7 separate regions of the Homo sapiens genome follow, and all the other regions are linked to region 1. The links are contacts of gene promoters, found by promoter capture Hi-C in blood cells and fetal thymus (Javierre and others, 2016). All regions are on one chromosome and are shown on one strand. Each heading gives the region's core, a stretch centred on a gene start or on the middle of the fragment in contact. The rest is flanking DNA. Distances are from core to core; before and after follow the strand shown.

The links. Contacts are between HindIII fragments. The CHiCAGO score rates a contact against its expected background, and 5 or more counts as called.
Region 2: a fragment that was not itself captured here is called in contact with the fragment with the promoter of ITSN2 in region 1 in 1 of 17 cell types (neutrophils); the score reaches 9.6 in neutrophils.
Region 3: a fragment that was not itself captured here is called in contact with the fragment with the promoter of ITSN2 in region 1 in 1 of 17 cell types (neutrophils); the score reaches 5.9 in neutrophils.
Region 4: a fragment that was not itself captured here is called in contact with the fragment with the promoter of ITSN2 in region 1 in 8 of 17 cell types (monocytes, neutrophils, fetal thymus and 5 more); the score reaches 7.6 in monocytes.
Region 5: a contact is called between the fragment with the promoter of FKBP1B here and the fragment with the promoter of ITSN2 in region 1, in 14 of 17 cell types (erythroblasts, endothelial precursors, fetal thymus and 11 more). The highest score is 17.8, in erythroblasts.
Region 6: a contact is called between a fragment that was not itself captured here and the fragment with the promoter of ITSN2 in region 1, in 1 of 17 cell types (neutrophils). The highest score is 6.2, in neutrophils.
Region 7: a contact is called between a fragment that was not itself captured here and the fragment with the promoter of ITSN2 in region 1, in 1 of 17 cell types (erythroblasts). The highest score is 5.2, in erythroblasts.

The regions. Positions count from the first base shown.
Region 1 is chr2:24,358,979-24,362,278 of GRCh38, reverse strand. It overlaps ITSN2 (intersectin 2), which reads left to right and starts at 1,743. Exons shown (of 40, transcript NM_006277.3): 1 at 1,743-1,975. RefSeq lists an enhancer at 1,310-1,459 and silencers at 1,560-1,859, 1,870-1,919, 1,930-2,329. The HindIII fragment of the contact is 2,111 bases long and covers 902-3,012 here.
Region 2 is chr2:24,731,172-24,734,624 of GRCh38, reverse strand. All of the region lies in intron 17 of NCOA1 (nuclear receptor coactivator 1), which reads right to left. Among named protein-coding and RNA genes, the nearest start is that of PTRHD1, 60 kb to the left of the region's middle. The HindIII fragment of the contact is 3,076 bases long and covers 132-3,207 here.
Region 3 is chr2:24,759,818-24,763,672 of GRCh38, reverse strand. NCOA1 (nuclear receptor coactivator 1) reads right to left here. Exons shown (of 23, transcript NM_003743.5): 22 at 897-986. Among named protein-coding and RNA genes, the nearest start is that of PTRHD1, 32 kb to the left of the region's middle. The HindIII fragment of the contact is 2,546 bases long and covers 1,109-3,654 here.
Region 4 is chr2:24,812,556-24,815,950 of GRCh38, reverse strand. It overlaps CENPO (centromere protein O), which reads right to left. Exons shown (of 8, transcript NM_001322101.2): 4 at 1,458-1,575; 5 at 195-454. Among named protein-coding and RNA genes, the nearest start is that of CENPO, 21 kb to the right of the region's middle. The HindIII fragment of the contact is 3,568 bases long and covers 1-3,395 here.
Region 5 is chr2:24,048,111-24,051,650 of GRCh38, reverse strand. FKBP1B (FKBP prolyl isomerase 1B) reads right to left here and starts at 1,910. Exons shown (of 4, transcript NM_004116.5): 1 at 1,765-1,910. The coding sequence starts at 1,801. RefSeq lists a silencer at 1,749-2,048. The HindIII fragment of the contact is 22,874 bases long and covers 1,159-3,540 here.
Region 6 is chr2:24,777,400-24,780,743 of GRCh38, reverse strand. No RefSeq gene overlaps it. Among named protein-coding and RNA genes, the nearest start is that of PTRHD1, 14 kb to the left of the region's middle. The HindIII fragment of the contact is 2,192 bases long and covers 754-2,945 here.
Region 7 is chr2:23,922,284-23,925,677 of GRCh38, reverse strand. All of the region lies in intron 1 of ATAD2B (ATPase family AAA domain containing 2B), which reads left to right. Among named protein-coding and RNA genes, the nearest start is that of ATAD2B, 3.1 kb to the left of the region's middle. The HindIII fragment of the contact is 2,762 bases long and covers 548-3,309 here.

The DNA.
Region 1 (3,300 bases), core at 494-2,993:
GTTTGGAGCCATCTCACCTTCACCTGCCTCAACAGGTAAGGAATGAAAGGATGCCAGGGGTTATTTGATCTACACAGATCAAATCAAGGGATATGAGTTTTGGACCCCAGACCAGCCCTCACCCTGCTTCTAAAAGCCAAAATAAATCTTGGGTCTTGGCCGGGCGTGGTGGCTCACGCCAATCCCAGCACTTTGGGAGGATGAGGCGGGTGGATCACCTGAGGTCAGGAGTTTGAGACCAGCCTGGCCAACATGGTGAAACCAGTGTCTACTAAAAATACAAAAATTAGCCGGGCGTGGTGGCAAGTGCCTGTAATCCCAGGTACTTGGAAGGCTGAGGCAGGAGAATTGCTTGAACCTGGGAGGCGGAGGTTGCAGTGAGCACAGATCTCACAGTTGCGCCACTGCACTCCAGCCTGGGCAACGGAGTGAGAGTCTGTCTCAGGAAAAAAAAAAAAAAAAAAAAAAAAAAAAAAAGAAATCTTGGGTCTTATATCCAAAAATCTTGAGTCTTACATTTGGTTACTTTTTTTTTTTTGAGACAGAGTTTCGCTCTTGTCGCCCAGGCTGGAGTACAGTGGTGCAATCTCTGCTCACTGCAACCTCCGCCTCCCAGGTTCAAGCGATTCTCCTGCCTCAGCCTTCCGAGTAGCTGGGACTACAGGCGCCCGCCACCACGCCCAGCTAATTTTTGTATTGTTAGAAGAGGCGGGGTTTCACCATGTTGGCCAGGCTGGTCTCCAACTCCTGACCTCAGATGATCCACCTGCCTCGGCCTCCCAAAGTGCCGGGGTTACAAGCGTGAGCCACTGTGCCAGGCCGACATTTGGTTACGTTCATTAGGAAACACTAACTCCTCCCTCACCCCAATCAAAAGAAAGCCTTTCCCCTTGAAGAAGCTTCTTGTCAAGGGCAAACCTTTGGGGTTTTGGGATACGGTGGCGGCTTGAGTTGAAGTCTGGTCTTTTGTGAGGAGACCAGGAACCGGGAGGGGAGAAAAGAGACAAATTCTGAGTAGGAGCTTCGCCTGTCCCTTGGCGAGGGGTGGGGAGGAAAGTTTAGCTTCGTCGTGCTATGCTCTATGGGGACAGAGTCTTCCTACTGCTCGGCGGAGTGTGACTAGCGTAGAGGGTGCTCCTCGTGGGCGCTCCGCGTGTGTTATGGAGGAGGGCGAGGAATGGTGAATGGATGACCGAGGGTATGGTTAAGTCCTCCAGGTCCCTGAGAAGGGTTCAAGAGGCCTGTAACAGACCCATGGGCAAGGGTGGGATCAACCTCCTTCCCACCTTCCACCCCCCAATTCCCAGAGAATTCGTTCCCCCAGATCAGTGGAGAAAACTTCGGCGAGTGAGAAGGTTCCAGGGAGAACCCCGTGGTGGGTGCAACAGGGATGTGGCAGGCACTGCTTGGGACTTTCCAAAACCCCGGCGTCTGCCGTGGCAGGAAAAGCACCACCCAAGCTCAGCATGTTACCTCGGGGAGGAGGAGCCAGGTGGGTCTGTGCAACTCCAGGAAGGGCTGCCAGGTCTGGGGCTTCGGGGCCTCCCCGAGGGCAGAGAGGAGCGCTTCGGACCCGACCGACTCGGAGCAGACCTTCAGGGTTCAATGCCCCGGAACTCCTGGGGCGAGGAGCCACGCCCGGGCAGTTTCGGGCTCCGGAGGGTGGGGAGTCGGTGCCCGGCAGCGGGCGGGCCGTCAGCTGCCCGGCCCGGCGCCTACCTCCCCGCCCCCCGGCTTCCTGCGGAGGCCGCGGCCGCCATGTTGTTGTGGGGCTGAGGCGGCGCCGGCGGAGCCCTGAGCGGCTGTGACAGGCTACGCAACAGGTTCGCGGGCGGCGGCCTGACGACCAAGCCAGCTGCAGTGGCGGCGACGGCGGCAGAGCAGGGTCTCCCCGCGCCTGCCCGCGCCCAGGCTGCCGGTGCTGAGGGACGCGGAGTCGCGCTGTGACGAGCGGGAGGCGCGGCGAGGGCGCCAGGTGGGTGAAGCCGCTAGCGGGGCTGCAGCAAGGCGCGGGGCAGGTGCGGGCGCCGCGCCCGCTGCCCGGAGGCTCTGCGGGTCGGGCTGAGGCGGCTGTGCGCTCCGCACGATGGGGACGGGTCCTCGGGAGTACGGGCGGCCCCCGAGCTAGGCCCCTGGCGGGCTCGGCCGTGCGGGGCGGAAACCTCCGGCCCCGGGTTCCTTCCTCTGCTGCCGGGCCGGGACAGACGCCGAGGGGGCCTGGGCTGGGCTGCCCCTTCCTTGCGGCCGAGCCCGGGTCCCTGGCCGCGGCCTCGTCTGGCAGGTGGCGGACGCCGGCGAGGGTCGGGGGTGGCGTGGCCCCCTCGCTTTCGGGGTGTGAGCAGAAGAGAGCTCTGGGGGCACCCGCACGCCTCCTCGGGGACCCATTTTATTTTCGCGGAGTTGGTTTTCCTTCCTGGCAAGGGTTGGTGCCGAATGTCAGGTGAGCCGCATCCCGGTGCGTCAAAGTAGCCCGAGTCACGAGAGGACAGTGGGCGGATGCTTGGCGTCTACCGCTCGCGTTCCTCCGGAGTTGGAAATGTTAAATTTACCTTCAGCGTTATTGACTTCCAGAATATACAGGAAGCACCGAGAGATGTAATCTCTCAGGCCAGATAAAGTTTATTTGTGTATTTATTTATTTATTTTTAAAGACGTCTGCATATGCATAGTGAGTGGGTAAACCGAGGCTGAAACTGCAGATGGCTTTGTATTCTATAGAAAGATGCTCCGTTTGGATTTATTAATTATGCGCCTTGTCGCTCTAGAATTACCAATGGCAAGTGTGCTTTATTTGAAACTTGTGTTAATACTGAAATAGGAATATTTTTTGATGGAGCCAACCCCTTTACGATAGGAATTAAGGTTAGCATAGAAATGACTTGCTTTGCTCCATGCTTCTAGTTTGTCTCACTAGTGTTTGCTTGCTTACTCAGAAATAGGCAAGGTGTGACTTGAAATTTTACGTTGTTAGTGAGCTCAGTTTAGGTAGCATAGCTCTTGTAGTTTAAAGCTTCTTAAGCGTTTCGAAAAATTGCCTCTCTCCCTGTGCTGGTTTGCTATATTGTTAATCAGTGATAAAACCTAAAAGCTACCTAGAAACATCGCATAAAACATTTACGCGAATTAATAATGACGTCCTTCCAAATTTAAAGATACTGACAACTCTGATGTGTTTTCCTTTAGCTTTTTTTGGCTGTGCCTGTGACTCTCTTGTAATTTCAAAAGTAAATAAAGTGGATGTATTTTATGTTTTTGAAAACGTGGAAAAAATGTGCATTGCTGCTATTTTGATGTAATATT
Region 2 (3,453 bases), core at 420-2,919, 370 kb before region 1:
CAGAGTCTTGCTATGTTGCCCAGGCTAGTCTCAAACTCCTAACCTCAAGCAATCTTCCTGCCTACGCCTCTCAAAATGGGGGGGTTATAGGTGTAAGCCATCACATCCAGCCTGGTTTAATTTTTAAAGCTTTGTTTTAAATCTTGATATCGGTAGAGCAAGTATACCCTCATTTTATTAATACTTCAAGATTGTATTGATGCTTCTAAAACAAATTTAGCATCTATTTGTCAAATTCCATGTTGAGATTTTATTGGAATTCCACTGAATTTACTGATTGAATTTGGAACAACTGTCATCTTTTTACAAGCGACAACCAATTAGGAGACATAATTTCTTTCATGAGTATTTTTTTTTGGATGTTCTTTTTGCCTTTCAATTATGACTTCCACATCTTCTAAGTTTTGAACAGTGTGAATTTCTTTTTTCTTCTTTTTTTTTTTTTTTGAGATGGAGTTTCGCTCTTGTCACCAAGGCTGGAGTGCAATGGCACAATCTTGGCTCACTGCAACCTCCACCTCCTGGATTCAAGCGATTCTCCTGTCTCAGCCTCCTGAGTAGCTGGGAACACGCCACCACACCCAGCTAATTTTTGTATTTTTAGTAGAGACGGGGCTTCACCATGTTGGCCAGGCTGGTCTCGAACTCTTGACCTCAGGTGATCCGCCCACCTCGGCCTCCCAAAGTGCTGGGGTTACAGGCGTGAGCCACCGTGCCTGGCCTGAATGTATTTTTAATTAATTTTCTAGTAAAAAGAATTGCCATTAATTTTTGTTTCTTGTTCTTTTATCTAAAATCCTTGCTGAACTACTCTATTTGTTCTAAGTTCCCTATAGATTCTTTTGGATTTTCTGTTTTTTGTTTTGTTTTGTTTTGTTTTTGAGATGGAGTCTTGTTCTGTCACTCAGGGTGGAGTGCAGTGGCACAATCTTGGCTCATGGCAACCTCCACCTCCCAGTTTCAAGCAATTCTCCTGCCTCAGCCTCCCCAGTAACTGGGATTACAGGCATGCACCACCATGCCCAGCTAACTTTTGTATTTTTAGTAGAGATGAGGTTTCACCATGTTGCGCAGGGTGGTCTTGAACTCCGGAGCTCAGGCAACCCACCCGCCTCGGCCTCCCAAAGTGCTAGGATTACAGGCGTGAGCCACTGTGCCCGGCCAGATTCTTTTGGATTTTCTATATAAATAGTTGTATTATTTGCATATAATTTTGTTTCTTTCTCATGTTTGCTTTTTTTGTATTTCAAAATGACTTAATTTTTAGTGCGCTAATGGTGTTCTTTTTTTTGTCTACACTGACATGAACTTAGTCACAGACACAAAAAATACAACCTGTTATTTAATAGGATTTAAGGCAGGAGAAAGGGGAGATATATTAATACTACCTCAGTTCACTATTTTATCCCAACTGTGAATTTAACTATATAACTTTAAACAATATATTTAAACCTCAATTTCTTGATTTAATCAGGCACTGTTATTGCCAACCCGCAGCCATTTACTCTCCCCTTCTTTCTTGAAGACAGAACAGATTTTGTTCAGCTGACCATCCCAAATCACACAACTCCAGGGGTAATCCAGGAGTATTCTCAGTCAGTCTTTGCGAACCATTGGTTAAGGGTGTACATGTGACTCAGTTCTGACTAGTCAGACATGTGAAGTATTTTTTCCCCCTTTTTACTTTTTTTTTTTGTTCCTTTTTTTCTTTTTTTGGCGGGGGATGGGGTGGGAAGACCTTCTGGAAAAAGTTTCCTGGCTTTTGGAAAGAGGTACATAGGAAAGAAACAGTCCCTTTTCTTCTGCTAGTTATAGTTTTGTTTGCCTACGGTATTTGTAATCATGGCATGCCAAGGATTGCAGAGCAAAAAGAGAAAGAACCTGGGTCCTTGATAACATCCCTGAATCTCTGAAGTAACCACACCTTGGTCTGCTTTCATTTTGGATTGTCAATTGGGTCAAAATATTTTCTTTATTGTTTTACTATGCTGAGTTGATCTTTTTTTCTTTCCTTGTGGCTGAAAGCATCTTAACCAAGACACTGACTGAGAACCTTGGCCAGACCTGCTCACAGAAAGCCCTTAAGTGGACACATGTAAAACTCCTAGTACTTGCAGTGCAAGTGAAGCTGAGCGACCTAGTGCTGAAACAGTAAGAACTTATGGCTTAAAAGAGAAGGAACAGGCCCCGATATGTGGCTCGTTAGGTAGCAGAGTTACTGTCTTAGTTTGCAGTAGAAGTTGTTTTTGCGTATAGACATACATGGGGCTTATAACATGGTGAGCCCCAAATTCTGTGTTTCTTCAACTTGGTGGATACTTTACTCTGTTAGGTTACCATGCCATCTCTGGATAGGCATCCATGAGATTTAAGGGAAGCAAAGAGCAGCAACTTTCACTTATTTGCATCTTATTCTCATACCTTTGCAGGGCTTCTCTGCTTATCAGCTGTTTTAGGAGCAAATGGAAGCCAAAACAACTTTTTTTTTCTGAATCAAGCATGAATCATCATTCCATTCATTCATGAACCTGACCTAGACCCTTGGTCTGGCCTTGCTCATTGACCCTTTAATATTAGGCAGTATTTACAGAACTTTACATTGTAAAATGAGAAACTAGCACACCTACACTTTCCTTTACTTTTTTGGTTTAGCCCTTAATCACATACTGCTTGCAGCGTCACTTAACTTTTCAGGTATGTAGTCAAAATGGTTTTCAGGTCTTGTAGTCAAAAAGCCAAGCAGTTGCCTGTTTCTTTTATTCCTTGTATTCCTTATAGTACCTAGTGTAGTCCCCTTAAATATGTTCTGTGAAAAATTAAACACGGGGAAACTGTTAAGCATTTCTTATTCTGGTGCCCTCTATCTAAAGATGAATGGAAAGCTACAAGAAGTAGTTTATCTTCAATTAATATCTCAGAACATTTATGATTCCTTCTCTTTCTCTTTTCCTCTCTCTTCCTTTAATTCTTCTTTGAATCCTTTATTCTACCCTAGCATTTAAAAAATTATTCCTTTTATTGTTATTCTATCATTTAAAAAATTTCCCTTTCTTAGTTCTCCTTTTCTCTTCTCTTTCGTCATCTTCCTTTTTTTAAACAGAATGGAAGCACATTTTATATTACATATTATGTTTATTGAATGCAACTTTATAGTAATAGCTAATATTTATCAACTGCTACAATATGCCAGGCATTATGCTACAAGCTTTACATGTTTTGTCTCATTTATTCCATACAACCACCAGTGAGGGAAAGGAGTTCTTTATTAGACTCTTTTTATAGATGAGGAATTAGAGGTTTTAAAAGGTAAATCATTTGATTAAGGCAACCCACTTAAGTTTGGAACTGGGACTTGAAACTAGAACTCTTAAAACCATTACATCATACTGCCTTTCCAGTATAATTTATCTCCTTCTTTCTCTTCCTTCCTGAATTAGTAAGTCTCCAGGGAAC
Region 3 (3,855 bases), core at 1,132-3,631, 400 kb before region 1:
CTCCAGCCTGGGCAAAAGAGCGAAATTCCAACTCAAAAAAAAAAAAAAAAAAAAAAGAGAGAGAGACCAAAGTTCAACCAAAGTTACGAAAGTGAATTAAGCCCTTCCTCCAAAATTTTTTTTTTTTTTTTTTTTGAGATGGAGTCTCGCTGTCGCCCAGGCTGGAATGCAGTGGCGTGATCTCGGCTCACTGCAGGCTCCGCCCCCCGGGGTTCATGCCATTCTCCTGCCTCAGCCTCCCAAGTAGCTGGGACTACAGGCACCCGCCACCTCACCCGGCTAATTTTTTGGATTTTTAGTAGAGACAGGGTTTCACCATGTTAGCCAGGATGGTCTTAATCTCCTGACCTTGTGATCCGCCCGCCTCGGCCTCCCAAAGTGCTGGGATTACAGGCATGAGCCACCGCGCCCGGCCCACAATTTCTAAATTAGGTTAATATAGGAAAGTGGCCACCTTGCTGTTTGTGCTGTTTTGAAACATACTTCTTAGGAGGTGAAGTATACAGCAGGTACTCTGTTTTGTCTGAATTACTGAGATCTTCTGAGGTATTTTGATTACAGATGAGTTTTTAGCACTGTGCTTATTTACAAAATAACAATTAGTGGCCACCATTTGTGATCACTTTATCCTATCTAAGCACTGAGTTAAGCCATCTGAACTGATCTCATTGAATCCTCTCAACAATCCTATAAGCAGGTGTCATGTTAGTTCTGTGGTTATACAGCAGCTCAGGAAAGCTCCATAACATGCCCAGGACGACACAGCTAAGAAGAGCAGAGCCAGGACTCACACCCAGGTCTGACTCCCAAGGTCAGGCTCTTAATGATGCTACACAATGACCTCTGTGCATCTAGAGTACATTTGACAGCTCTGGGCTTAGAATTTCCTTACTGACCTGGGTTCCATCTGCTTCTGTTTTGAGAAGGTCAGTGGATGAGAGCTGGTTGCAGTAGAGGCCTGTGTGTCTCAGTGCGGGATCATTTATCTATTAAAGATAAATACAAGATCAAATTACAAGCTAGTTGTTTAAACTGAAAACCAAATTCTCCAATGAAAAACAATCTCACTGACAGAAAAGTAATAGGAGCACAGCAAAAATGAAAAGCTTAGCAATTAACTGTGTTGTTACAAGTCAGGATAGTCATTCCCCTTGTGGGGTAGTGAGTGTGTAAGGGACACAAGGAGAACCTCTGGGGTACTGATGACATTCTGTTTCTTGATCTGAGTGGTACTCAGGTGTGTTCACTTTGTGAAAATCTATTGAGTTGTACACTTTTCTCTATATTCTTATATATGATACTTTAATAAAAAGTTAATTCACACATACATATGTTAATTAGTGGTAGACTCACACTTTGGTCAAGATTTAGTAACAGGGATCAGACTTATCCTCCTGCCTCAATCAGCTAAAAAAATTGACAAAATATGTGAAAAAAAGGCACTGAAGACATTAGACAAAGGCAACGAAGGACAGTGATCCCTAACAGTTCAGCAGTCCCTACTGTGGCAACCGCCCAGCCTACTGCCTGGAGTGTATTTCCGGCTGTATCATGGACAAAGGGAATCCAGGCAGCGCCTGGCAGGCTCCCTGAGTTAAGGGGATGCAGCTAGAATCCTCAGAGCAGAATATCAGAGAGAGCTCTGGAATAGATCTGCAGTGGCCCTCAAGTCTGAAGCTCAGTACTAATCAGCTTATAGATGCAGGGGAAACAATCACCTGAATAGATGACATGGAACAATTCCCAAAGTCCCCACAGGGCTGGGAATAAGCCCTGATTTCACCCCCCAGAGTGGAAAACATCGTAATTCATGTAGTATCATGTAGCATATTAAAGGTTTTACCTTGGTGGTAAGGTTAGAATTAGCCCTAGAAAAAATACTGCTTTGGTCGCAGTAAACAAAAAAGCAAGGATCAAACTTCCAAGTAACCATTTCCTAGAACAAAGCTCAAGAATATTTGTAGGAATATAAACAAGGTAAAATTCATGTCTGGCATCCAATAAAAAATTACCAGGCATGCAAAGAGGCAGAAAAATATGATGCATAATGAAAAGGGAAGTCAACTGAAATCAATTCAAAAATGATGCTGATAATAGAACTGATAGGTGAGAAATATCAGGACAATTATAATAACCATATTCCATTTGTTTAAGAAATAAGAGGAAAGGCTGAACAGATATGAAAAAAATGTTGGAGATATGGAAGATATAAAAAGGATCCAAATATGACTGCTAGATATGAAAACTGCTATGTCTGAGATGAAAAATACACTGTATAAACAGATTAGATATTGCAAAATAAAGAATTAGTGAACCTGAGGCTACAGTAATATAAATGTTCTAAAATCAAAGAAAAAAATAACTGAACCTCATCCCAGTGCTCGAAAGCCCCCAAACCTAGAGAATCGGTGAATGTGAGACAATTTCAAGTGCACTATACATGCAACTGAAGTCTCTGAAGGAGAGGAATAAGGATGGTGACAAAAATTATTTGAAGAAATAATGATCAATATTTTCCAAAATTTGGCCGGGTGTGGTGGCTCACGCCTATAATCCCAGCACTTTGGGAGGCCGAGGTGGGCAGATCACCTGAGGTCAGGGGTTTGAGACCAGTCTGGCCAACATGGCAAAATCCCGTCTCTACTAAAAACATAAAAATTAGCTGGGTGTGGTGGCGCACCCCTGTACTCCCAGCTACTCAGAAGGCTGAGGCAGGAGAATTGCTTGAACCCAGGAGGTGGAGGTTACAGTGAGTGGAGACTGCGCCATTACACTCCAGCCTGGGTGACAGAGTGAGACTCTGTCTCAAAAAAACCACAAAAAAACAAAAAACGACAACAAAAAATTTTTTCCAAAATTTAATGAAAATTATATGGTAATGAATCAAGAAGCTCAATGAACCCCAAGAATAAGAAATATGAAGAAAATACACTGAAGCATATCATAATCAAATTACTTAGAACCAGTGGTGGAGAGAAAAATCAAAATCAGCCAGAGGGGAAAAACATCAATCATACATGGAAGAACAAAGATAAAATGACAGCAGATGTCTCATCAGCAACACTGTAGTGGAGCAACATCTTTAAAGTACTGAAAGCTAAAACTGCCAAGCTAGAGTTTAGGGGAAAGAACATTCAAAGATGAAGGTGAAAGACTTTTTCAGACATAGAAAAGCTCATTAGCCGCAGGCCTGCACTATAAAAATGTTAAAGCCAAGGCCGGGCGCGGTGGCTCACGCCTGTAATCCCAGCACTTTGGGAGGCCGAGGCGGGCAGAACATGATGTCAGGAGATTGAGACCATCCTGGCTAACACAGTGAAACCCCATCTCTACCAAAAATACAAAAAAAAAAAAAAAAAAAAAAAATTAGCCGGGCATGGTGGCGGGTGCCTGTAGTCCCAGCTACTTGGGAGTCTGAAGCAGGAGAATCGGTTGAACCTGGGAGGTGGAGGTTGCAGTGAGCTGAGGTTGTGCCACCACACTCCAGCCTGGGCTAAAGGGCGAGACTCCATCTCAAAAAAAAAAAAAAGAAAAAAAAAAAGTTAAAGCAAGACCCTCAGGCAGAAGGAAAATAATACCAAATGGAAATTTAGAACTACAAAAAGAATGCAGAAAATTTAAAGTGGTGACTATGTGGGTAAATATAAAAAAGCTTTTATTTAAATTTTCTTTAAATAGTCAATTATAGTTTATAATTAATTTATAAATTTGTAAGTAGAATTTATAAATTTATAATTTATAATTGACTAAAGAAAAAATAATAAATTGCAGGGAACAGAACATATATAAATATAACATGTATGACAACAGTAGCACAGGAGGGACAAAATAGAAATAAATTGTAATGAGGTTCTA
Region 4 (3,395 bases), core at 489-2,988, 450 kb before region 1:
GCTTCAACGCCATCCAGAGTTTCAAAAGAAAAGAGGGTGGGATAGTGCTTTTATATAAATAAGAAACAAGCATCGGAAAGGTAACGGTCAAACTTCTAACTCACAGTTAGGAAACACTGAAAATACAAAAAACATCCCCCTTTTAAGTTGATCTTGGGCCCACGGATGAGGCATATAACATCCCAGAGAGATACCTGAAGCCGGTCTGCCTGGTACTTCCTCCCAGAGTAAGCATTCAGGTACTCGCAGAGACTGAACAGGAAGTGCTGGATGTTGGTCTGTAAATATTTTGCAGCTATCTCTTCCAGGGGAATGAAGACTGGGACTGAATGGTGATGTATCCGGAGTGGTTTCTGTATGACAAGGTCCACAAAATAGGAATCCAATAGGTTCCCCTCAAAAGCAGTACTGATGCAGACACAAACTCCTCGGCTGGTCAGTTTACCACTGAGGCCTGAGGCAAACAAGAAGACACCTCAATAGACAGCAGGCCAAGGTGATGTCTTACTCATCTGTGCCTCCAGTAGCTTCCACAGTGCCTAGAATATGTACACTTTGTACACAAATGTTTGTTCAATGAGTATCATAGGCTCATTCTTCCCCTTGGCTCCGGCTCACTTTGAGACTGAGTTGTTAAAACCATGGAAGAATGGTAAAAATGAAAAAACAACCTAAATGTCAAACTATTGAGAAATTTTTTTTTTTTTTTTTTTGAGATAGGGTTTCACTCTGTCACCCAGGCTGGAGTGCGGTGGCACGATCTCAGCTCACTGCAACCTCAACTTCCTGGGCTTAAATGATCCTCCCATCTCAGCCTCCCAAACAGCTGGGACCACAAGCGCATGCCACCTCACCTGGCTCATTTTTAAATTTTTAGTAGAGATGAGGTCTTGCTATGTTGCCCAGGCTGGTCTCGAACTCCTGGACTCAAGTAATCCTGCCTCAGCCTCCCAAAGTGATGGGATTACAGGCATAAGCAAGGCCAAAAATTTAATTTATAGCTATTCTTTATTTCTGAGTGTGAAGTAATTTGTCAGAGTCCCCAGTTCTTCCCACAACTATCTTGTGGCATAGATGGGAGAATAAATCCCTATTTACGGTGAAACGGAGACTTGGAAAGTTCAAACTATTTCACTAGTGGCAGAAAACAAGCCAGCAGTAAAGACAGTTCTAGTACAAGGTCTGGCACATGACGAACTGTTAAGATGAGTGGAATAAGCCAGCCACCAACTGAGCTGCTGTACAAAGGGGCCAGTCAATCTTGTAGGTGAAGATAGGCCTACAAATAGCACGTCAGCTGTGTGTGTGTCTGTGTGTGTGTGTGTGTGTGAGTGATGAGGGCAGAGGGTGTAAAATACTATAAATTATGAAATAATTCCAGGACTGATAACACATCTAGCAAACTAACTCACTAGAGGCAGACCCAGACTAAATTAGGTTAAAAAAACAAACAAAACCTGTAAAATGATATGCCTGCAGAATGGCTTTCACATTTTCCAATTTCTCTTCCAATGCTTCTTGCTCATTGATCTCCACTGTTTGGTTGGGTTCTACATTGGCAATACATGCTTTCACCTGCAAGATATGCAGCAAATCAATCTTGGTACAAAGAGGTACACTACAACATCCCCGCCCTCCCCCAACTGGATGAAAGCTAAATACAAGGCACATGATATAATACATCAAGAAATGCTACAGTGGCCGGTCAGTTATTGCTATGAATTCACTGCAGAGGAAGAATCTCATGGGTCACAATGCCAGGAATCAGAAGTGGAGACTGTACAGGTCTGAAGAACAATTCGATTTTTGATGGGAATGGACAGGACTGAGAGAGCAGCAAGAAAAGGTTGTGTGGAAAGTCTAGGCTAAGCACAGGGTGGACACAACAGGTGGCTGTGAAGAGGCAAGGCTGGGTAAGTTGTGCTTGGACAGTGTGGGGTTTCAAGTGCCAGGGCTCCAAGGCTTACGCTGCTAGCTATGGCCCAGCAGAAGGTACCAGGCTGACCCGCCCTCTGAGAACAACTATGCAAGCTGGATAAAATACCAAAAAGAAACAAGCAAGCAAAGAGAGCAAATGGTTTGAAGGCATTCCAGAAGGATCCAAATAGCCAGGATTGGAGAGTACTGACAAATGCTCTGAGCTGGCTTCCCTGCAGCCTCTGGCCTCAGAGCATTTCCTTATTCATATGCAAGGCACACTGGGCCACATAGAAAGGCATAAACTAGACTCCGCAGCAGTCTCATCCGGAACAAACACTGGACATTAATGGTATCAAAGCAGACTTTCTACGGGCCAAGATTCCATAGAAACAGGAACTCAACGTTCTGCTTGCAATCTTCCCTCCCGGCATTTGCTAATTCCTAAGCTGCACAGGTGTGACTGGGGACTGAGAAACCAAACGGAAAGAAGCTGCTAAAGGGGAAAAAGCCAAGCAGAGATTTTGCTAGAACAAAATGTGGATTTCAGGGCCTGCCAGGGAACAGGAGCCTTAATAGACCCATCTCCAACACACTCCCAAACTTTCAACTGAAGGTCCTAAAAAAAGCTAAGCCCTAGGAGTAAGGGAAACCGGAAATAGACCACCTCAACTGAATAAAGGTGATGTGCCCATACACGATCTACTTGCCAGAAAAACACTAAAATTTCCTCTGGAGGAAGATAACATACTCAGAACCCATATATTTTTCCTTCTTTCTTTCTTTTTTCCAGACAGAGTTTTGCTGTTACCCAGGCTGGAGTGCAATGGCACAATCTCGGCTCACTGCAACCTCCGCCTCCCGGGTTCAAGCCATTCTCCTCCCTCAGCCTCCCGAGTAGCTGGGATTACAGGTGTGCGCCACCACGCCTCGCTAATTTTTGTATTTTTAGTAGAGACAGGGTTTCACCATGTTGGCCAGGCTGGTCTTGAACTCCTGACGTTAGATGATCCACCCGCCTTGGCCTCCCAAAGTGCTGGGATTACAGGCGTGAGCCACAGCACCTGACCTCCGTATATTTTTTCATACACAATACTCATCATTGAATTAAAAAAAAAAAAAAAAAAAAAACTACAGGCATACCAGGAAAGAGAAACAGATGACTGAAAGCCAAGAGGAAAAAGAAGACAACAGAACAGATGCCAAGGGATTCAGCTATTTCAATAATGGGGCATGGCCATTAAAACAGGCTAAAAGATGGAAACCCAGACCAAAGAGCTGGAATCTATACAGAAAAGAATGAGACGGAAATCTTAGAACCAAAAAAATACAGTAACTCAAATTAGAATTTTAATAGATTTAAAAGCCAACTAGACAAATAAGATCTTACGTGGAGTGGAAAGTAGGCATATTTTCCATATCCAGATTAAAGTACAGAGAAAAAAATAAGATTAGAAAATTACTAAGACATAGGTCAC
Region 5 (3,540 bases), core at 661-3,160, 310 kb after region 1:
TCAAAGGCCCTCAGTCCAGCAATAGCGGGAACCCTGTCTGTTTCAACTGTGTCACCTTAGGGCCTAGCACACACGTTCAATAAATATTTGCTGAACGAGTGGTGTGTTTGACAACTTGCAGGCAGCTTGGGAAAGCTGGAGGAAAAAGTTAGTGGTGGGCTTAGGACAGGTGGTGAGAGATGAAGCTCTAGTGTGGAAGATGAGAATAGACCATAGCACCAAAGGCCCCTCCTGGGGGAGAGGGAAGAATCATTAAAACATCTTCTGCCTGAGGGAGGGGCATAGTCAAACATGCATTTTTTTTCTTTTTTTTTTTTGAGATAGAGTCTTGCTCTGTCACCCAGGCTGGAGTGCAATGGCACAATCTCAGCTCACTGCAACCTCTGGCTCCCAGGGTCAAGTGATTCTCCTGCCCCAGCCTCCCGAGTAGCTGGGATTACAGGTGCGTACCACCATGCCCAGCTAATTTTTGTATTTTTAGTAGAGACGGGGTTTCAACATGTTGGTCAGGCTGGTCTCGAACTCCTGACCTTGTGATCCGCCCGCCTCAGCCTCCCAAAGTGCTGGGATTACAGGCGTGAGCCACTGCATTTTAAGAAGAGTCTTCAGGCTATGATATAGAAAGGGAGTGAATATGAGATTGGGGACGAGATTGAAAGCAGGGAGGAGAGACTGAAGATGGGGAGATTAGCTCAGGGGCTGCTGAGGGATGAAAAGGCCTCAGGGAGATGCTTTCTGGGACCCAGCAGCAATGTTTCCTGCGTGGGCAAAGAAGCCTGTACTCCAGGGGATATCTGAAGTAGTGGCTGGGATTGGACAAGGAAGATGGCCTGGAGCCAAGAAGTTATCCAATTTCCTGGGGAGGGGAGCTGTTCATATTAATAATATCTGATATGAAGTTTGCCCATCAAACCCTGCAGACAATGGGGGCTTTGGTATTAATTAAATTTCAAGAAATAAAGAAATGGCTATTCCTTGCACACCCAGACCCAGTAATACAAGGACTTGGGAAAGTGAGACACGGAAGGGGGATAAAGAGGATCACTTAGGAGAGAAGGTGGGAAGCGAGAGTTCTGTTTTGGACTTGCTGACCAGGGAGCACCCTGGGACGTCCAGGGAGAGGTTCGGCCGTAGGTCGCAGGGCTGGGCTTAGAAGCTTCAATGTGGAGGCCATGGGAGTGGACAGGGTGGCCAGGGAGTCTGAAAGCGGCGGCAGGATAAAGCGAGATCCGGAAGCGGGCAAGGGAGCGCTTCCCCCTTCCCCAGCCTGGGTCTGTCCCCACAGCCGCTCACAGCCCGGCCCGCAGGGAAGCGACCGAGGGGAGGCCCGGCGGGGGACGCGCTAGGAGGAGGTCCCCGAGCAGCGGGTATCCGAGAGCAGGTCCTGCTTTCCAGAGCTCGCCGAGTAGGGCAGGGAAAGCGAAGCCGAAACCCAGGCTGGGGTATCAGCAGCAGCGGATAACCGAACGACTGCAGCCGCGACAGGAGAAGCCCGGGGCGGTGGCGGGCCGCAGACCCCCGCCTCCGGGCCGCAGACCCCCGCCTCCGAGCTGCCGCCTACATTCCCCTAGGTGAGCGCGGAAGAGGATGGCGGAGGATGGTCTCCTAGACCCCCAAGAATCCCGTCCGGCGTCTCCGCCTGCCTTCCCCATCCAGCCCCCCGACCCTTCAGCACCCTCCACGCCACCTCCGAATCAGACCCCCGCCCTCCGGGCTCCGCCCCGGGACCCCTCCCCTCCCCTGGCTCCGGAGGGAGCCCGGTACCGTCTCCGGGGGAGATGGTCTCGATCTCCACGCCCATAGCGGTCCCACAGGCCCCGCCTCTGGGGGGTCCCTGCTGCTGCCCGACCCCGGCTCGGCTCCGGCCCCAGCCCCGCCGTCGCTCCGGCTCGCCTCCTCGCCGCCACTGCAGAGCCGGAGGAGGTGCGGCTGGAGTCGGGACCTGCGCGGGGAGGGGCCACTGGCAAGGGGGCGGCGGGGCGGAGCCGCGCGGAAAGGTGGGGTCGGCCGGGGCGGGGCCCGGGGGAAGGGACCCCGCCCGGCTGTTAGCGAGCCTGGCCCCGCCTGACGACATTAACCCACTGACCAGGGAGCGTGGTAAGCACAACCACATCCTCCATCCATCCATTCATTCGCGCATCCGTCCAATAGACATTTATTTAGCATCTAATCTGTAGTAAGCTCTGGGAAGTCAACCCAGTCCTACAGACTTGTGGGGGGTGGGGGGCAGAAGGGGCAAAGGCCGGCGATTAAACCATCATTTTATTTTTATTTTTATTTTAGACAGAGGATCTTGCTCTGTCGCCCAGGCTGGAGTCCAGTGGCGCGATCATAGCTCACAGCAACCTCGAACTCTTAGGCTCAAGCGATCCTTCTTCCTCAGCCTCCACCCAAGTAGCTGGGACTAGAGGCGCGAGCAACCACGCCCAGCTAATCTTTTATTTTTTATTTTTATTTTTTGTAGAAACGGGGTCTCGCTGTGTTGCTATCTAATGAAACCATCACTTTAATTAGATGCGCTCAGTGCCGTGCAGTTCAGAGCGTTGCGGAAGCACAGAAGAGGTTCCTACCCTCGCTAGGCGTCCTGGATCTGTAGGAGCAGAGCTGGGGGAGGGAGGGAGGACACCAGTAATTGCTGACTCTCCCCCATACCCCTAAACCCCTGTTCTCCATCTCGTGTAGTTCTGCTCGACGCACATTTATTGGGTACTCAATTTTCAAGGCAAAGAAATGCGCCCTGGGGATACCAATAGAATTAAGACAGGTTGGCTGTCTTCCAGGTACTAAGTCTGAGAGGGACGGGGACACACAGTTACTGCATGGAGTGATTAGTGCTGTGGAATGAATGAATGAATATGTAAATGAATTCTACTTTGAGTTCCTCCTCCACCAAAAAATACATTCAGGAATCTAGAAAAATATTTTTTGGAGGAGGTAATATTTGTTTAAAGGGTAATTGGGACTTTTAAAATTTTTTCCCCCTCATTATTACCTGCATTGTTCCAAAAATTGATGTGAGGCCAAGTATATCAATTTTTGGAACAATGGCTCACACCTGTAATCTCAACACTGTAGGAGACCGAGGCAGGAGGATTGCTTGAGCCTAGAAGTTCAAGACCAGCCTGGGTAACATAGCGAGATCCCGTCTCTCTCTCTCTCCTTTTTTTTTTTTTTTTTTTTGAGACAGAATCTTCACTCTGTCGCCAGGATGGAGTGCAGTGGCACAATCTCGGCTCACTGCAACCTCCGCCTCCCAGGTTCAAGCGATTCTCGTGCCTCAGTCTCCCAAGTAGCTGGGATTACAGGCGTGAGACACCAGCGTTCGGCTAATTTTTAAATTTTTAGTAGAGACAGGGTTTCACCATGTTGGCCAGGCTGGTCTCGAACTCCCGACCTCAGGTTATCCGCCCGCCTCAGCCTCCCAAAGTGCTGGGATTACAGGCATGCCATCTTTATTTTTAAAAAAAGAAAAGAAAAGAAAAAGAAAAACATAAAAACTGATGTGAAGATATGATTCTCCTGAGTGGCACTGGAAGATAG
Region 6 (3,344 bases), core at 600-3,099, 420 kb before region 1:
TCTGACACACCATATATTTTGCTTATTGGTTTGTCAGCCAACCTTCATTAGAATGCAAGCTCCATGAGGGCAGGGATTTGTATTTTCTTCATTGAGGTAGCCCCAGTGCCTGAAATAGTACCTGGTAAATAGTAGGTATTCAGTTAATATCTGCTGGTTGAAAATATATATATTTTGTCACTACTATTAAATTACTTGTGATATAATCATTATTTAAAATAGCTAATATGCATTTTTTTTTGAGACAGAGTCTCACTCTGTTGCCCAGGCTAGAGTGCAGTGGCATGATCTCAGCTCACTGCAACCTCTGCCTCCCAGGTTCAAGCGATTCTCCTGCCTCAGCCTCCCAAGTAGCTGGGACTACAGGCGCCTGCCACCACGCCTGGCTAATTTTTGTATTTTTAATAGAGACGGGGTTTCACCATGTTGCCCAGGCTGGTCTCGATCTCCTGGCCTCGTGATCCGCCCGCCTTGGCCTCCCAAAGTGCTACATTACAGGCATGAGCACTGCGCCCGGCCACTAATGTGCAATTTTAAAGACAAATCCTCAGGTCTAAAGATTCCCAGGATGACTAGCCACAACTTACTTTTGAGCTGGTAATGAATAAAGTGACTGAAGTCATCTCTTTACTTGGGGTTATAAAAATCACATACCAAAAGACTGATTAAAAACCTAGAACTGGTTCATTATACTATTCTTTCTACTTTCACAGACACTTAGAAATTTCCTTAATAAAAAGCTATTTAGAAGCTTTCAACTGAAGGTAGGATGAAAATTTAAAGCCTAAGCTCAGAGTCATGCGAGTCTTTAAATAGGGTGTGCTCTATAGGGAGCTTTTCCCCAGATGGTTTTGCTTAAAGTCTAGCTTGCTAAGTAATTATTATTTAAAGTATAATTGCTAACATTAGAAGAATGTTAAAATGGAAAGCTAATTTTTAAAATTTATGCTTTTTTTTTAAAATTTTTTTTGAGATGGAGTCTCACTGTCTCACTCTGTGGCCCAAGCTGGAGTGCAATGGCGCGATCTCAGCTCATCGCAACCTTTGCCTCAGGGGGTCAAGTGATTCTCCTGCCTCAGCCTCCCAAGTAGCTGGGACTACAGGTGTGCACCACCACACCCGGTTAATTTTTTTGTATTTTTAGTAGAAACAGGGTTTCACCATGTTGCCCTGGGTGGTCTCGAACTCCTGAGCTCAGGTGATCCACCTGCCTCGGCCTCTCAAAGTGCTGGGATTACAGGCATGAGCTACCGTGCCCGGCCAATTTATGCTTTTTTAAAAATAGAAGTTTGCAAGGCAAAAAGGAAGATGATCAGGAAATATGTAGCCTAAAGTTAAGTATAGGCAGGTATGTGATAAATTACTTTGGACTTGAAAAAGCAGCAGAACTGAGCAGGGCTGGAATGCTTCTTCAGGAATGAGGAAGGAAACTCCAGGCAAGACCTTTGTTCCTGTTAGAGGAAGGTCAGCCTGTTTGTTGATGTGTCCCTTCTGTTCACTTTCTGAGTTAAGTCACTCAGCTTTTAGAGGCATTGGTTTTAAAGGCCAAACTGATAGAAATTTCACAAGGAGCCATCTTATTCTTGTTTAATTTCAACATGAATTGCTTCTCAGCAGCATTTTATTGTAGGTAAAAGAGTGAATAGGACATACGAAAAGAAAAGAAAAATTTGGGGACCCCCAAACTCACTGTGCTAAAGGGAAAGTTAAACTTGTGAACTGAAGCACACAAAAACTTCCTTCCTTTTATTCTTAAACAGATAGCTGTGATTTCACATGCTGACCTTACCTTATGTGTAAAAGGAATGGCTGGGCACAGTGGCTCACGCCTGTAATCCCAAGGCAAGCAGATCACTTGAGGCCAGAAGTTTGAGACAAGCCTGGCCAACACAGCAAAACCTCGTCTCTACTAAAAATACAAAAAATTAGCCAGGTGTGATGGCACATGCCTGTAATCCCAGCTACTCAAGAGGCTGAGGCCCAAGAATTGCTTGAACTCAGGAGGTGGAGGTTGCAGTGAGCTGAGATCATGCCACTGCACTCTAGCCTGGGTGACAGAGGGAGATCCTGTCTCAAAAAAAAAAAAAAGAAAAGAAAAGAAAAGAAAAGAAAAAAATAAAGATTTATTGAGTGCAGGAAAAATGCATAATTGACTTTCCCCTACTCCTGTCTTTTCAAACGTAAAATGTGAATTCAGTGAGTGCTAATCAAAGCCTCACAAGAATGTAACGATTTGCCTTACCACCTAACCTCCCCCTTTCTCTTTCCTCCTACCCCTTCTGTCCACTCTTTGCCCTTTAAATACTGAAGTCCTCAAAACCATCTTTGAAAACAGTACAGGCCACAGATCCTATTGTAACTTGTATTTCTTTTTCCCATGCACAACCTCAACTGTGGCAAAGTAAACCTCTAAATCAGTTGAGATCTGTCTCAGACACTTTTTGGTTTATACTATATATTCATTTTTGTAGGGAAGACTGGAAGTGATTGTCTCACCGATCTGCCTTTCCTACTTTCTCAGTTAAGATGGTAGTCAACTCAATCAGCTGATTTTCAGTGAGAGGGTAATTTCGGAGAAGTGGAAAGGGTTTAACCCAAGCATATATCATCTATAAAGCTGAGAGCTTGATGAAGTATTGCAGATAACTGCTAATGTTCTGTAAATTCTCCAACGATGTAGAGGCTCCTAGAGTGTGAGAATTTCGAAACTCCTAGTGAAAGGGACTTGTATTCACTCACCTTTTATGAAAACAAACAAACAAACAAACAAAAAACAGTTGATACAGGAGCTAGAAAGAAATTATTTAGGTAGATAGTGAGGGCAACAGAGTCCTTGACGGATTTTCCCTTTTAACAAAAAGCAGCCCCCCCCACAATCATTTCTTTTCTAACAAAGAACAGCCTGAAAAATCAAACTGCAGTCATAGATAAGCAAGCTGGAAGCTTGCATGGGTGAATGCTGCCAGTTGTGCCAATAGAAAAGGGCTACCTGGGCTGGGCGCAGCGGTGGCTCATGCTGGTAATCCCAGCACTCTGGGAGGCCAGGGTGGGCGGATCACGAGGTCAGGAGGTCGAGACCATCCTGGCTAACACGGTGAAACCCCATCTCTACTAAAAATACAAAAAATTAGCCGGGCGTGGTGGCAGGCGCCTGTAGTCCCAGCTACTTGGGAGGCTGAGGCAGGAGAATGACATGAACCCGGGAGGCGGAGTTTGCAGTGAGCCGAGATTGCGCCACTGCACTCCAGCCTGGGCCACAGAGTGAGACTCCATCTCAAAAAAAAAAAAAAAAAAAAAAAAAAGGGCCACCTGAGGGCCAGGCATGCTCAACATGGAGGCTCCAG
Region 7 (3,394 bases), core at 679-3,178, 440 kb after region 1:
TTACCTACATTATAAAGCTAAGCACAGATATTTATTGTTTTAAAGGAATTGACACGTTTGTTTTACTATGAGATTGTTTCTGAATTCAGAGAAGAGTGTATTGCTTCTGTCTAAAAGAGGTTGACTTGCTAAGTAATTTGGCTGGAAAAAGCTGTTCATTTAAAATGCTCCTTTAATTCCACACCATTTTGTGGTTCTTATTGGGGGAAAGCAATATTTTATGTTCTAGGGGTCTACAAGATCGCGGTTTGTGTGTGCTTTTCTTTGTGTCTTACACTGTTTTGACACTAACAGAATGGATCTAGGCAGAGACAGGAATATTTTACCATACTACTCTGAAATATTTTTATTATATCTTTGAAAATCGTTTTGGCTTTTCTTTGATAAAATTTTGGGCATTATAACGTCCTATTTAATAGACTATTTTGGGGGCTTACAGCTCTCTTAGGTTGAAATAAGGTTAAATCTGAAAGTTGTGCAAACTGTTGAGAATAAGTACTTTGAAGACGAGGCTTTCGGTGGAAACTATTCCAAACATGTTCAAGCTTCTTGACCTACTGAGGCTATCACATATTTTAAAATAAAACTCAATTTAAGAAAAGATCTTTTCTGTACATTTAAGGACAAAGAAAATATTTAGGGTGTAAGCATTTAATCGTATCATGCTATGTGAATGCCTAGTCTGTTAGAGCAGTGTCTAACTCATCTGAAGCAATTAGCTCATCTTCACTCATCAGTTTGTGGTCCCATTTTTGAATTCATGGATATCATGCTGTCCTCACCCCCCGAGGAATAAGGTGAGGTAATTTGTCAAGCAGCTGTTATAGAGATGTTAAAAGGCTAGGAATCAATAATCTAATGAGGAAATGAACATTTGGTAGCTTTTAAATTGCTAAAAGAATGAAAGATATGAGAGCTCTTTGTAGAAGGGTACTAATGAAACTTTGTTTCAAAGATCCTTTTAAAATGTTTTAAAGCACCATAAATAACAGGGTACTAAAGATTTACTTTGAAATATTTGTTTTTCAGTCTTAAGAAGATTTATGTTCGGCTCTAGGAGATGATGTAGTCATCTAATTGCTTTCTCTGAAAGGTTTTTTTAGAGACGTAACTACTCTTACATAGTGATTGGACCTTTAGAAGAGGATAAATTATAATTCTGAATTTATTAAGTTTATGGACTATATATTTATGAAGCAGGTTGTATATTTCTGGTTAGCTCTTCTCCAGTTTTGTAGGAATTTAGCACTCCTGGTTCACCCTTTCTGGAGTACTTAAAGACACCCTCTATGTCTGTGGGGTCTGTAATAAGCATTTGCCAGTGTCTGTAAAGTCTCATTTGGTGCAAAATGGGGTTGCCCGTGTTGTTGCTTTCGCAGACCCTTATTTTTGTAGAAAGAAATGTATTCCTGTTTGTAACATAATATTCCTGTTTGTAATTGAGGAGTTTCTCCTTTTTCTGCTTTTGTGCCATGTTTGTTTGTTTGTTTTTTTTTGAGACGGAGTCTCGCTGTAGCCCAGGCTGGAGTGCAGTGGCGCGATCTCGGCTCACTGCAGGCTCCGCCCCCCGGGGTTCACGCCATTCTCCTGCCTCAGCCTCCCGAGTAGCTGGGACTACAGGCGCCCGCCACCACGCCCGGCTAATTTTTTTGTATTTTTATTAGAGACGGGGTTTCACGGTGTTAGCCAGGATGGTGTCGATCTCCTGACCTCGTCATCAGCCCGCCTCGGCCTCCCAAAGTGCTGGGATTACAGGCGTGAGCCACCGCGCCCAGCCTGTGCCATGTTCTTAACTAACTACACTTGATGCCTATTTTTCCCCCTTTTCCCTGTTTTTAGATTATTTCATTCACTGTGTCCAGAGACATTTTATTTGCTTTAAAAAGTCATAGCGCTATGAGCTTTTCTTAAAGTTTTGTCTTTTTCCCAAGTAGTATATGCATAGGATGGGGGAAAATATGCATTCTGCCGATTATTGGAATTATTTTCTTTTTCTTTTTTTCGGTATGAAAAGCCTTTTTTTTTTTTGACATGTAAAAGGTGGTACTTAGTGTATATAACTCTGTGAGTTTGGAGATAAGTATATATTTGTGAAAACACCACCGCATCAACACCATAGACATGTCCGTCATTCCTAAAGTTTCCCTGTCCCTTTTATTATGAATGTATTATTAGTATTATTTTTGTGGTAAGAACACTTGATATAAAATCTACCCTCTTAGAAAATTTTAAGTATGCAATACAGTATTCTTAGATGTAGGCACTATGCTATATAGATCTCCAGAACTTATCTGGCATAAGTGAAACTTGATTGTCCCCCCACAAGACCCTGGCAATCACCCTTCTACTCTCTGCTTCTGTGAATTTGCTAGTTTAGATTCCACTAAACTAGCAGATAAGTGAGATCATTCAGTATTTGTCTTTCTGGGACTGACATATTATTTAGTGTAACATCCTCTAGGTGCATCTGTGTTGTTGTAAATGGCAGGATTTCCTTCTTAGGCTTAATAGTATTCCACTGGGCATGCACACATGTACACCACGTTTTCTACATTCATCTCTTTTTGGACATTTAGATTGTTTCCATGTCTTAGCTATTAATAATGCTACTGCGAACATGGAAGTGCAGATGTCCGTCGAAATCCTAATTTCAATTCCTTTGGATAAATACCCAGAAGTTGGGATTGCTGGATCATATGGTAGTTCTATTTTTAATTTTTTGAGGAACGTTCATACTGTTTTCCATAGTGGCTGCACCATTTTGCATTTCTACTGACATGTACCAGGATTCCCTTTTTTCTACATCTCCCCAATATTTGTTGTCTCTTGTCTTTTTGACAAGAGCCATTTTGACAGGTGTGAGGTGATATCTCATTGTGGTTTTGATTTGCATTTCCCTGATGATTAGTAATGTTGAGCACCTTTTTATATACCTGACAGGTGTCTGTTTAGTTAGGACCCTTTTTTTTTTTTTTTGAGACAGAGTCTTACTCTGATGCCCAGGCTGGAGTGGTTCACTGCAGCCTTAAAATCCTGCTTTGCCCATTAAAAAATGTTTTCTTCCTTTGGAGTTGTAGGAGTACCCTATGTATTTTGGAAATTAACTGCTTATCAGATATATGGTTTGCAGATTTTTCTCTTAATCTGTAGATTGCCTTTGTGCCCTCACTTTTAAATTTTCTTATTTTTTTTTCCTCTCTTATCATTACCCACAATGCCCACACTTTTAAAATATCAGGTTGTTTTTTAGTGCTATGCAGTTAGATGTGATTACTCCTGTATACTGTGGCTTTTGTTTTGCTCCAAGCTTTCATAAAGCTTGACCCCTTTTAGATCAGTTAATCTGGCCCTCAGTCATTAGCGTTTATTTGCTCCACCTAGGTGTCACTCCTAG